4 separate regions of the Homo sapiens genome follow, and all the other regions are linked to region 1. The links are contacts of gene promoters, found by promoter capture Hi-C in blood cells and fetal thymus (Javierre and others, 2016). All regions are on one chromosome and are shown on one strand. The core of a region is centred on a gene start or on the middle of the fragment in contact, and the rest is flanking DNA. Distances in the headings are between cores, read along the strand shown. Region 1 holds the start of EGFLAM-AS5 (EGFLAM antisense RNA 5). Region 2 overlaps OSMR (oncostatin M receptor). Region 3 overlaps OSMR (oncostatin M receptor). Region 4 overlaps OSMR-DT (OSMR divergent transcript).

Region 1 (3,161 bases), core at 262-2,761:
TGGCAGCTGGCCCCGTTGCTGTTCTGAGGAGGAGGGACTGGACCGGCTGGAAGATGGGATCTGTGCCTGGCTTTTGGGTAGCCGCTGTGGGGAGAGCATGTTGAAGGCTGGCCAGGCTCTTGGCTGAAGAGAAAGGTTTGGGGTGTCGCCAGGGAGCTCAGAGGCTAACAGCAGTCCCTGTCCTAGGGAGGAAGGATGGAGTGGGGCACGGGATCCTGAAAAGCTTTTCTCCCACAATCAGGGTCTGAGGAAATTCCCCGGAACCTCCCACATGTTCGAAGCAAGGGTGACCGGGTGTGGGGTGAGGATGTCCTTGCTTTTCCTATTAAGATGGCCTCCCATAACCCTGCATGTTCCTGGAGGCCCCACCTCAGGATTTCTCTCAGGAAGGTCTGTGGGGGTCTTCTGTGTCCCCCTTCTGCGGCTGCCCAGGCAGCTGCCCCGGCCTGCCCGCCGCTCTGAAGGCCGTGCCACTCTCCCACCCTGGTATTTGTCTTTCATTTCCTGACCCAGTCCTGCTCCCTTCTCCCGGCCCTCCAACACAAACAGGCCGGCTGGTGTCCACACACAGACTGCCCTGCTGGCACGGGCACTGGCGCTTTCCTGCTGCTGCCCCCTCTCCTTCCTCCCTGCCCACCTCCTCCCCTGGCCCTGCAGGAGCTGCTACCCCCTCCCTGCGTGGGAGGAAGGAGCTCGGAAAAGCGCCCGGAGTTGGAGCTGGCAGGCCCAGGGCTTTCCACTTGGAGGAAACGCTGCATTTTTCACCTTTAACCCAGAAAAATATGGTTCTCAGAAAGCTTGTTTTTAGCACTGTGAGTTCCCAAAGGAGGAAGAATAGGCAGTAGGGGGGCCCCCAGCCTCTCTGAGCTCCGACAGCAACCCCCACCCCAGAAGGCCGTTCTTCCTGGGAGGGAATGACCGAGGGGCAGCCTGCAGAGGCCCAGCTCCGAGAAAATAAAGGCAGAGAATTCCAGCTCCAAGCGGAAAGACAATACTTTAGGAGAGGAGCCTGGACAAGGCATGAGCCGCTTCCCACCTCCTCCCTGCCTCTTCCAGCTCCTGCCCAGTCCAGGAACGCATAGTAGTTGCCCTTGGAGCTGGGGGTCAGTCCGGGCGTGCCCACCACCGCCCAGACCCTTAGCTGAGAAGGGGGTAAGATTAGCTTATCAAAGGCGGGAACGACGTTCTCCAGCACTTTCTCCCTGCAGTGGGGAGAGAGCTGCCAGCATGGAATCAAAATTAGAATCTGAAATCAGGGGTCGTACAGCTTTAGCCCACTCCCACGTTATTTGTCAACATGGAGATGTGGGTCGTCCGACGGTATCCGAACTAGGGACTTATCCGGCACACGCTAAACAGAGAAGGGAAATGTAAGCAGCCCTACCTCAACCATTGTGAGGCCAGAAGTCCCAGGGCTGCCGGCATTTAAGCTGGTGGGTCCCGTGGAAGTGACAGGCTGCCGTAAGGAAGTTCCAGCTTACAGGTGGCTATGTTCGGGCCAGCAAAATGACTAATCCAATGCAACAGCATCAGCTGGCTTCTGGGCTAGGCCCTGTGAGTAACCGCACCGCAACCTCACAGTCAAAGAATGTTCACATATTTGATCTTCATAACAGTCCTCCTCCTATGATGGCTGGAGCAGATGGGCATGGCCTATTTGACTTAGGAAGACAGACACTGGCCACAAAGACTGGGTGACTTGCCCATGGTCCCATCACGAGGACGCAGCCACGATGCTGTCCCGTGGAGCTTTTCTGCCCTCACCCTGACCTCTGGTCAGGTGCAGTCTGCCCAGGGACACCCGCATTGTTGAGGGACATTCTGAGGCTCCCTTGGGTTAGCTGTCGTCTGCAGTATAGTCGTGTAAGTGAGGGAGATTCGGACAAAGGCCATGTCCCAAGAGTCTGCTTGCCAACGCATGCCAGTTTCTCATCACAGCCCTGAATCTGCCTTCTTTCAAAGGCCTTCTGTTGCAGGGACTCTGGGTTGAGCAAATCTGAAAGCAGAAACTAAAGAGCTAGTCCAGCAGGGTGGGATTCAGGCCCCTCTACGGGCAACTGGGTGTAGGTTAAATTCTTTTCCCTTCCCTCCTTTGCTTTCATCTCCACAAATAACCTCCATAACCCTGGGGAGTGGTTGCAAGCTATTTCTGCCCAGCAGCGTGTTCCCCTGGGCCCCTGCCTCGCCCCAGCCAAGCCACGAGCTGAAAGAACAGGGAAGGCAGCTGGGAAAGGCCTCCCCTGCCGCTCCTCTTCTTCCCGCTTGCTCTTGCTGAGGCATCTTTGTCCTAGAAAGTTCGTAGCTCCCAGGAGCACTTGCCATTTCCTGGAAAGACGGGAGAGAGAACATTATGTCTCAGCCCCTGGGAGGATGTCTCTTCTTTTCTATTTATCCATCTTGTCTTTCAGTTTTGCTCAAGATGCAAATGGTGTCCAGAGGCATAGAAATTTCCCAGCATGTGGCATGGCCTCCCCCGATGTCCCAGCTGCTCACCTACAAGCCAGGGCCCAGCCCGGGGCTATGACCTCCCCGAACAGCCTGCTGCCAAGGGGCTGCAGTTCTGACTTGGCTAGGAGAGGACTTGAGTTGGAATGTCTCTTCGAAGGAAGGCCAGGGAGGCTCAAGAAATTTGCCGTTTATACTCACTTAATAACAAAAGTAAGAGGCACCAGGCCAGGGGCTTAGCTAAGGAAAGCCCTGTTAGGAAATTGGCCAAAAGAAAGCGGAGGCAGAGAAAATGGACTATGAGGCAGAGAGAGCTGTGGGAGGAGAGGGGTATGGGGCCGCAGGGGTCGCAAGGCTCAGTGCGTGGTGACTTCCGGCCCTGCCGGTAGCATTCCATGTTCTCACTGAACGTGGGGTTCAGAGAGCAACTGTGGGGGTTCAGAATGAAATGGGGGGCCCTGTCTAATACAGTGGAAAGTGGAACACAAGCCGATTGCTTGTCCAGGTCACATTCACACCACCTCAGAAATGAAAGAAGCCTGGGCGATCTCTGTTCCAGCTCCACACGGGGCTAGAGAGGTAAGAGGATGTGCCCAAGGCTGGGGGCCTTATCCATGTGACTGCCTCTGGCCTGGAAGCTGGGAGCCCTTGGGAGTGGGTTGGGAGGCTTTGGGGGTGGGGAATGGAGGGTGAGGAGCGGATGGCCTGCGGGCCCT
Region 2 (3,161 bases), core at 288-2,787, 470 kb after region 1:
TTAATAAAGGCCACAGGAGACATTACTATAGCATAGATTGTCAAATGTAAATTTACTGAGCGTGTTTTATAAAAAACTCACAGGTGTTTGAGGCCAAAACAGATTTTAGACTTACCTTGAACGGATAAGAATCTATAGTTCACTGACACAGTAAAATTAACTCTGTGGGTGGGGGCGGGGGGCATAGCTCTAATCTAATATATAAAATGTGTGATGAATCAACAAGATTTCCACAATTCTTCTGTCAAGCTTACTACAGTGAAAGAATGGGATTGGCAAGTAACTTCTGACTTACTGTCAGTTGTACTTCTGCTCCATAGACATCAGTATTCTGCCATCATTTTTGATGACTACCTCAGAACATAAAAAGGAACGTATATCACATAATTCCAGTCACAGTTTTTGGTTCCTCTTTTCTTTCAAGAACTATATATAAATGACCTGTTTTCACTTAGCATCCTTTGGACTCTGCAGTAGGTTGTCTGGGTCAAGATAACTCTCAGTCACATTTATATTCATATTATGCTAAAATAGTAAAATGAAACCTCATTGTTGGACATAATTTAGATATAACTAAAAAGTTCTATGAAGTGGGAAATTCCGTGTTGGCTCTGGAGCAGCTTTGTCTCCTCTGAACCAATATATCCCAAACCAATATATGCAAAGCACCTGGTACACAACTGGTATTTTAGTACATGTTGGTTCTTTTGGTGCAATCTCAGCTCACTGCAGCTTCCGCCTCCTAGATTCAAACAAACAGTTCTCCTGCCCCAGCCTCCAGAGCACCTAGGACTCCAGGTGCATGCTACCACACCTGACTAGTTTTTATATTTTTAGTAGAGATTGGGTTTTACCATATTGGCCAGGCTGGTCTCAAACTCCTGACCGCAGGTGATCCACCTGCCTCAGCTTCCCCAAGGGCTGGGATTACAGGTGTGAGCCACCATGCCCAGCCTATTTGTCACATTATTTGTCACATTTATTTTACTTTTATTTATTTTTTGAGATGAAATTTCGCTCTTGTTGCCCAGGCTGGAGTGCAATGGTGCAGCCTTGGCTCACTGCAACCTCCGCCTCCCAGGGTCAAGCAATTCTCCTGCCTCAGCCTCCTGAGTAGCTGGGATTACAGGCATGCACCACCACACCCAGGTAATTTTGTATCTTTAGTAGAGATGGGGTTTCACCATGTTGGTCAGGCTGTTCTCGAACTCCTGACCTCAGGTGATCTGCCTGCCTTGGCCTCCCAAAGTGCTGGGATTACAGGCGTGAGCCACTGCGCCTAGCCGTCACATTTCTAAACAAGCATGAAAGGGGTTCATTTTTGTCTTCTTCTTGCCTGCCGTCAGCATGGTGGAAATGGCTCTGCCTATGCTCATGCTTCTGGTGCCCAATGCCTTGCACTGTGCCATTCAACACTATGAAGAGAAACAAGTAGCCACACCTCAAAATAATGTGGCTGTCAACAACTGGCCTAAATAAACCTACACAAACCAGTACTTGCCTTTTGCTGGAAACATTGATTATGTGCTCCTCACGTAGTAGAAAGCGGTATCCTGATTAGTCTAACAGTTGTGTTAGACTTTAGGGCCAGTATTGTCAGCATTTATTTATTTATGTACCTTTGTTATGATGGGATATTTTTCATTTGAAACTTGTTCATAAAAATGTCAATGACATTGATGACTGATTTGTACATATTTTTCATATAGTTTTGTTTAAAAAATAATTCACGCAAAATCTTGAAGTCATTTTTGCTATTGAAATAAACCTTAATTAAAATATTTCATCATCACATTGTGTTTTATCTCCCTCAATGAAATGAAAATCTAGTAATTACTCAGTTTAGATGATACATCACCTCATGAACTTACTAAATAAAAATGTAAATTCCTGGGTATGACTACAAACCTCTTAATCAGAATCTTTGGGGCATGGACCTGGAATCTATTTTTTATCATCAGTTCCCAGGCATTCATCTACACACTAAACTTTGAGAATCACTCGCCTAAATCAAATGAAGTCTTTCTGAAATATAACAACATGCCAATAGGAAATGCTGGGCTCTGTAACATTTGTCTTCATAGTATCACTATGACCTGTAGTCTTGGCTGTAAACATTTCGTCTCCAATGGTCATAACCAAATAAATTCACGTTCAAAACCTTAGTTTTCAATACTATATGCCATCTTAACATGGCTTTAGGAAGTGCTATTCAGAAACTTTGAAATAATACATATTCATGTGTCAGGAAAATAATAATGGACAATTTCAAATAAATATATACACAAAAGTAGAATAGTTTAATAAACCACTATGTATCATCACTAGCCCCAATGGTCACTACCCATGACTGTTTCAGCTCCATCCACACCCCTGTTCGCTTTCTCCTCACATTGTTTTGAAGCAAATCATGATATCATGATTTCATGTCAATATCTGAGTTCTCTAAATAAGCTCTACTTTTTCTAATAGTCATAATATTGTTAAAATTGCACCTAAAATCACAGTAATAATTCCTTAAAAAAAATCAATCAGGATATTTGGGTGGTGGATGGATGGGACTGGCATATATGGCCTTTACATCCTGCGTCAGCCTGTGCACGGTCCTCACCTGTGTGTGGGGGAACTCGACAATTCAAGATGGGAGTTGGGACCTCTTCACACAACAGTACGACTGCTGAAACGCTTCCTACATTCAAACACCTAACCCATACTAATTAGGGTCAACCTTGTTACCTACTAGAATGTGTATTGATGAAGAACGTCAAGACTTACTTAATAATATCTTCTTATTAAACACTTCTAAGAGTTCTGTTGAAAGATGATAAGCTTTCATCTCAAATAATTTACAAAGCATGTTAAAGCAGTCTGCATAAAGTAGAACTTTTAAAACTCTGGAAGAGAGAAAGTAGAAGACAGTTTTCACAACTTTCAGTTAAAATGTTTACAACACAATAGGTATATTCAATTTGAAAGCATAGTTGTTTTATTCCTCTAAGCATTAAGGAAAGTTGTTTTAGTATATTTTAGTTTCTTAAAATCAATACCGAAGTAGTACCGTATTTTTGAGTATTTTATATGCTAAAGTTTTAAAAATGAAACAATATTTTCCAAGTTCAGCTACATTAGGACTTTTTTAAAGGATCAGCGGCATGATGAAT
Region 3 (3,161 bases), core at 293-2,792, 450 kb after region 1:
GGTGAAACCCCGTCTCTACTAAAAATAGAAAAAAATCAGCCAGGCGTGGTGGTGGCTGCCTATAGTCCCAGCTACTCAAGAGGCTGAGGTGGAAGAAAGGCATGAACCCAGGAGGCGGAGCTTGCAGTGAGCAGAGGTCGTGCCACTGCACTCCAGCCTGGACGACAGAGTGAGACTCCATCTCAAAAAAAAAAAAAAAAATGGGTGAAAGACATGAACAGAGAGTTCTGAAGACATACAAGCAGCCAAAAAACATTAAAAAATGCTCAACATCACCAATCATCAGAAAAAGTCATATCAAAATCACAATGAGACACCATCTCACACCAATCAGAAAGGCTATTTTTAAAAATCTTTGCATGTTGTTACTGTTTTTATTCTTTAGCTACCCCAGGTAGCTTCTGTAGCAGTCAGCACCACTGTCCTGCTAGACCTTCTGTAAGTATTAAAAGCCAATGTTCTTACAAGAACGTTTTTGCACAGAAGGAGGTGTTACACAAAAAGGGGGAAGGTTAAGCTACTGTACGCATTTGTTTGCAATGTGTCATCTCACAGAACTCATCCCTGTAACCCCATCAGGGCAGGAGCCTTCTTCACATGTCTTCATAATATTTCTTAAGGGAGGCCATTTTCCACAGTGCTTCAGATCTCAAATGCAAGTGGAGCCTGACATAATAAAACTCTGGTTTCATTTCAACCATGATGCAGGGAATATATTCCATGTGTATTAATAGGTTGTAACAGTTTTCTAGGGCTTTAATAACACAGTACCACAGACTGAAGGACTTTAACAAGAGAAATTTAGTGTCTCATAATTATGGAGGCTAGAAATCTGACATCAAGCTGTTGGCTGAGGTTGTTTCTCAGAGGCCACTCTCTTTGGCTAGTAGATGGTCATCTATGTCTGCTCACAGGGTATTCTCTTGAGCGTCTCTGTGCATCTATTGCCTTTTCTAATGAGGACACAAGTCAAAATGGCTATTACTAAAAAGTCAAAAAGCAACAGATTCTGGGGAAGCTGCAGGGAAAAGGGAACACTTATACACTGTTGGAGGGAATATAAATTAGTTCAACCTTCGTAAAAAGCAGTTTGGAGATTTCTCAAAACAGAGCTACTGTTCCACCCAGCAATCCCATTACTGGGTATATATTCAAAGGAAAATAAATCATTCTACCAACACGCATATGTTCATCACAGCACTATTCACCATAGCAAAGACATGGACTCTACCTAGGTGCCCATCAATGATGGATTGGACAAAGAAAATATGGTACATATACACCATGGAATAAATAATGAAATAATGTTCCTCCCAGCAACATGGATGTAGCTGGAGGCCATTATCCTAAGCGAATTAATGCAGGAACAGAAAATCCAATACTGCATGTTCTCACTTTTAAGTGGGAACTGAACATTGGGTATTCATGAAAATAAAGATAGAAACAATAGACACTGGGGACTACTAGAAGGGGAAGGAAGGGAGGGGGCAAGCGTTGAAAAACTAACTGTTGGGTTCTATGCCCACTGTTTGGGTGATGGGATCATTCATATTCCAAACCTCAGCATTGCACAATATACCCATGTAACAAACATGCACATGTACTCCCTGACTCTAAATAAAATTATAAAAAGAGAGTTTCTAGGAAGTATTTTTAAAAGTATTTCAAAGGAAAGTAAAATGTAATAGGGAGGGATATGATTCACTAAATTTGATTATTAACTACAGAATGATGAAGTATTTGACTATGGTTTCACATGAATGAGTTATATGGAAATATGCTAAATTACTTTCAAGAACATAATAGCATGCACAAAGAAGTCTGGAGGTTAAAGTAGCACTCAGGTGATGGACTTTGAATTTATGTTTTCATAACCAACTCTAATTTAATGAAATCATAATTTCTCAAAAATTTGACAGCACTGGGATATGTATTTTGAAATATAGTAAACCCTATCAATGATAGTAGACTGGTAAAATACTGATTTGCACCTTTCAAAAAGGATGTTTTTCTCGATTAAAATAAAGTTTGTGATTTGGCAAACTGAGAGTTGGAAGAAAAGTTGGAAGAGTTGGAAGAAAAATAATTCATGTAAAGTTAAGGAACCTACTGATAAGTAATTTGGATTTTATATCATTACTCTAAAATGGAATCTGGACTATTAAACCATTAGATTATGAAACTAACAACTCTATATCACATCTTGTATTTAAATTGATTTTTGTTATCACAAAAGTTATTTAGGTTTGTAGCAGTGCTACTAACTCTCTTAATTAGATACTTGAATTTAATTCAGTTATTTTTATTAGGGGCTATGCTAAAATATTCAAGCTATCTTTAAGAATTAAAGGGAAGTTTCAAAGTAAACATTAAAAATAGAAGTCATATGAGACATGCTATAGTTGTATTTTCAAATTCAGAAAGCTGAAGCAGCACGTTCACAAAATGTGATTGAGTAGAGAGATAAAGATGTTTTTTATGTCTGGATTTAAAAATGAGATGTGCTGTTAGGACTCAGTTGCAGAATGACATCAATACCTGTGAGTCCCTTTCTTGTTTGTCTCCATGGATGTGCTATAATTGGGTCATCTATATCTTCATCAGTTAAAGCCTGATATTTCTTGTGGCTTATGAATGTTTTAAATTCTCTTTTGACTACTTCTTGTTGTACTATTCTTGTGAAGTTCATACCATGACAAAATTGTATCAGTAGAAAATTTGATTCTATGTGGAATACAGAGTATTACATAAATCCAACAAAACAATTTACAAACGAAAAGATGTACTCATCTTAATAGGACTTTCATAATATTTTTATCAATCAATGATTAAAACGTGTGCCTTTTTAAGATTTTAAAATAAATTGCAATGATTTCATTATTTTTCCATTGCTGAGATTTTTTTTAAATGAGAATTTTGTTGAACTTGTCATGCAAGCTGAGCCTTCAATTGACCATCCATTTTCTAAAGATGAATAATGGAATGACCAGACCCTAACTACCTTGAGTTCAAATCTTGGCTTCACTTTTACTTTCACCTGGGTGATTTGAGAAATTAACTTACTCTCTCTGGGTCTTAGTTTCCTTATCTAGAGAATGGGGTAAATAATCATACCTGCCCCATAGAATTGTTATGAGGATTAAATGAGTTAATATATGCAA
Region 4 (3,161 bases), core at 271-2,770, 370 kb after region 1:
ATAAGAAAGATAATGGTGCAGAAAAGGTACTAAAAAGATATACAGGCTGAAAAATTCTCCAATTTGGTAAAAGACATAAATTTATAAATTCAAGAAGCTTAGCAAATGCCAGGCAGGGTAAATAATAATTTTAAAACTTCTAAGCACATAGTTGATAAACTATTGACAATCAAAGATAATGAGAAAATATTTAAACCAGAGAAAAAATGACACATTATATTGACAGAGGAAAGAAGAATCAAATAATGGCTGACTTCTCATCAGAAGCAATGAAAGGCAGTAAAATGTAGAACAGTATCTTTAAATAGTTGAAAGAAAATAGAATTCTATCCAACAAAAATATTCCTTGAGGACGAAGTGAAATAAAGATATTTTCAAATAAAATAAGACTAATACTATGTATCTCCAATAGACTTCCAATAAAAAATATACTAAAGTAAGTTTGTTAGGCTTACAGAAATGCTACCAGAGAGAAGCTTAGATCTTTGGGAAGGATTTAAGAACATTAAAGGTAAATATGTGTATAAATATAAAAGAGTAGTTTTCCTCTTAATTTCTTTAAAATACATACTATATTGTGGGTTTTATCTTGTCTGTAGATGTAATACACTTTACAACTATAGTGTAAAGGATGGGGTGTGTGGTTAAATGGACCTATTAAGTGAAAAGGTACAATACTATTTCAAGTACACAGTGAAATTTAAGAATGTACACTGTAATCCATAGAGAAAACATTAAGACATCATGCAAAGAGAAATAAGAAAAAGACAAAGGCAAATAAAAATGAAATTTAAAAAGCGTTCAAAGGCAGATATGGTGGCTCATGCTTGTAATATCAGCTACTTGGGAGGCTGAGGCGGAAGGATCGCTTAAGGTCAGGAGTTTGAGACCAGCCTGGGCAATGGAGTGAGACCCCAACTCTAAAAAAATTAAAATGGAAATATAAAAAGATAAAAAGTATTTATATAGTCCAGAAAAAAAAGAAGAAAAAGAAGAATAAAAAAACAAAACCAGAGAGAACAAAACACAAAACCTATAGTAAAATGGTAGGCTAAACACAAGCATATCAATAACTGCCTTAAATATAAGTCTACTAAACACTCTCTATCAAATTAAAATGCAGAGATTGTCAGTCAACTTCTAAAAAAAAGTCTCAACTATATGTTTTCTGTAAGAGATTCAGTTTAAATATAAACACAACTATAGACTTATTTCGGATCAACCTTAAGCCAATAGTTTTCAAATATCCAGAAAGTTCCCATCTAATTCTCTCCAAAGTATTTCTCTCTCACTGTATTAATGTTCTAAACTTTAGCATTAACAACTGCACTCAAATTTAGTAAGTGCCATAACCACAGGCCAAGAGAATAAAAGCAGCTATCAATATTCAATATTTTCCCTAAAGTCCCTGAGGGAAAAAAAGTAAAAGATCCAGGGAGGTTCTCCTCATTGTCTGGTTTCTGATGACTTCTGGAAGAAGGTGTGAGCACAATTACAACATCTGGAAGAGGGTGGAATGTGCAAAATCCATCCATCAATCAATCAATCAATTTTCAGATAATATCTAGTTTAATCAAGGAATTCCTGTAGAATTATTGTGGATAATATTATTCATCACTTAAGAGATTTTGAAAGAAAAGCAATTCATCATTAAGTAATTATAGGGAATTCCTAAAATGATAAAATGAGAAAGTCCCACATAGTCTTCTTACGCTCAACATCTTGCTTTGTCATTGCAGTGCCACTTTTTTGGATATTTAGAAGTGTTAGATGTGTAACTGCACCAGACCAGTCTGGTTCAACTTTTTTTTTTTCTTCCAATTTTTATTTTAGGTTCAGGGGGTAGATGTGCAGGTTTGTTATGTGGGTAAGTTGTGTGTCAAGGAGGGGATTGGTGTACAGATTATTTCATTACCTAGGTAATAAGCATAGCACCTGATAGGTAGTTTTTCAATCCTCACCCTCCTCCCTCCAGTAGGCTTTGGTGTCTATTGTTCCATCTTTGTGTCCATGTGTATTCAATGTTTAGCTCCCACTAATAAGAATATGCAGTGTTTGGTTTTCTGTTCCTGTGTTAATTAGCTGGTTCAACTTTATGGTTCACCATTTATATAGCGAAGCTGTGAGTTGTTTTTTAGTTGCCATGGACCCCCAGGTTGAAGGTCATGTAACTTGAGGAGGCTCAGATGAACTAAGAATGCAACCATGGGCAGAACCTAAATGCTTGGATCACTAAATTAAGAAGTGGACACCACATGGCAGGATCCAGGATCCAATGAGATTGCGCCCTGGTGTCACCTCATGGCAGGATCTAGTCAGATGGTGCCTCCCAGCCTCACCTTATTGCAAGATGCAATCAGGTCATGCCTTGTTACCCTCTGGCTATAAAACCTGACCCAAGTGCCAGGTGGGGACACAGATTTGAGCCAGACCCGTGTCCTTGCTTGGTAGCCTTGCAATAAATTTTTCATGCTATGAAAACCGAGTGTTTTGGTGTTTGGCTTTCCATTGCACAGTGGGCAAATGGACCCAGTTCAGTTCAGTAACAGATGTCCTTTAATTAATCAAGCTTTATGATAAATTTCAGATTAAATTTTTTTTTGGAAGACCTGTTTAGCTTTCCACAAAATAATTATTTCCACAAAATAATTTTAATTTCCAATAACTTTTTTTTAGAAATAAGGCCAATATCACCACCAATAATAATCACAGAGGCACGCGTTAAGGCCTAAAAGTGAATCTTTAAGATGTCAATGTCAGCTGGGCACTGTGGCTCACATCTATAATCCCAGAAATCTGGGAGTCTGAGGTGGGTAAATCACTTGAGCCTAGGAGTTCGAGACCAGCCTGGAGAACATGGCAAAACCCTGTCTCTATAAAACATACAAAAATTAGCCAAGCATGGTGGCGCGTGCCTGTAGTCCCAGCTGCTTGGAGGACTGAGGTGGGAGGATTGCTTGAGCCCAGGAGGCGGAGGTTGCAGCGAGCCGAGACTGCACCACTGCATTCCAGCCTGGGTGACACAGACCCTGTCTCATTTAAAAAGAGTCAAATGTGATAATATGCCAACAAAACAGAATTCTACAGAACTTGTCGATGAGGGTAATTGTAAACCATTATCCACTGCTTAGGTGATGAAGTCACTTTCTTCACAAAATCCC

What was found. The method cuts DNA at HindIII sites, captures the fragments that hold promoters and counts their contacts. A CHiCAGO score of 5 or more calls a contact.
Region 2: a fragment that was not itself captured here is called in contact with the fragment with the promoter of EGFLAM-AS5 in region 1 in 1 of 17 cell types (naive CD8 T cells); the score reaches 5.0 in naive CD8 T cells.
Region 3: a contact is called between a fragment that was not itself captured here and the fragment with the promoter of EGFLAM-AS5 in region 1, in 1 of 17 cell types (M0 macrophages). The highest score is 6.1, in M0 macrophages.
Region 4: a fragment that was not itself captured here is called in contact with the fragment with the promoter of EGFLAM-AS5 in region 1 in 3 of 17 cell types (erythroblasts, endothelial precursors and M1 macrophages); the score reaches 6.8 in erythroblasts.

The regions. Positions count from the first base shown.
Region 1 is chr5:38,466,855-38,470,015 of GRCh38, forward strand. It overlaps EGFLAM-AS5 (EGFLAM antisense RNA 5), which reads right to left and starts at 1,512. Exons shown (of 2, transcript NR_199676.1): 1 at 1,385-1,512. RefSeq lists enhancers at 1-611, 1,979-2,850. The HindIII fragment of the contact is 4,194 bases long and covers 796-3,161 here.
Region 2 is chr5:38,933,850-38,937,010 of GRCh38, forward strand. It overlaps OSMR (oncostatin M receptor), which reads left to right. Exons shown (of 18, transcript NM_003999.3): 18 at 1-1,792. Among named protein-coding and RNA genes, the nearest start is that of OSMR, 89 kb to the left of the region's middle. The HindIII fragment of the contact is 2,580 bases long and covers 248-2,827 here.
Region 3 is chr5:38,913,366-38,916,526 of GRCh38, forward strand. The region is part of intron 9 of OSMR (oncostatin M receptor); the gene reads left to right. Among named protein-coding and RNA genes, the nearest start is that of OSMR, 69 kb to the left of the region's middle. The HindIII fragment of the contact is 6,135 bases long and covers 1-3,161 here.
Region 4 is chr5:38,839,258-38,842,418 of GRCh38, forward strand. All of the region lies in intron 1 of OSMR-DT (OSMR divergent transcript), which reads right to left. Among named protein-coding and RNA genes, the nearest start is that of OSMR-DT, 5.0 kb to the right of the region's middle. The HindIII fragment of the contact is 2,093 bases long and covers 475-2,567 here.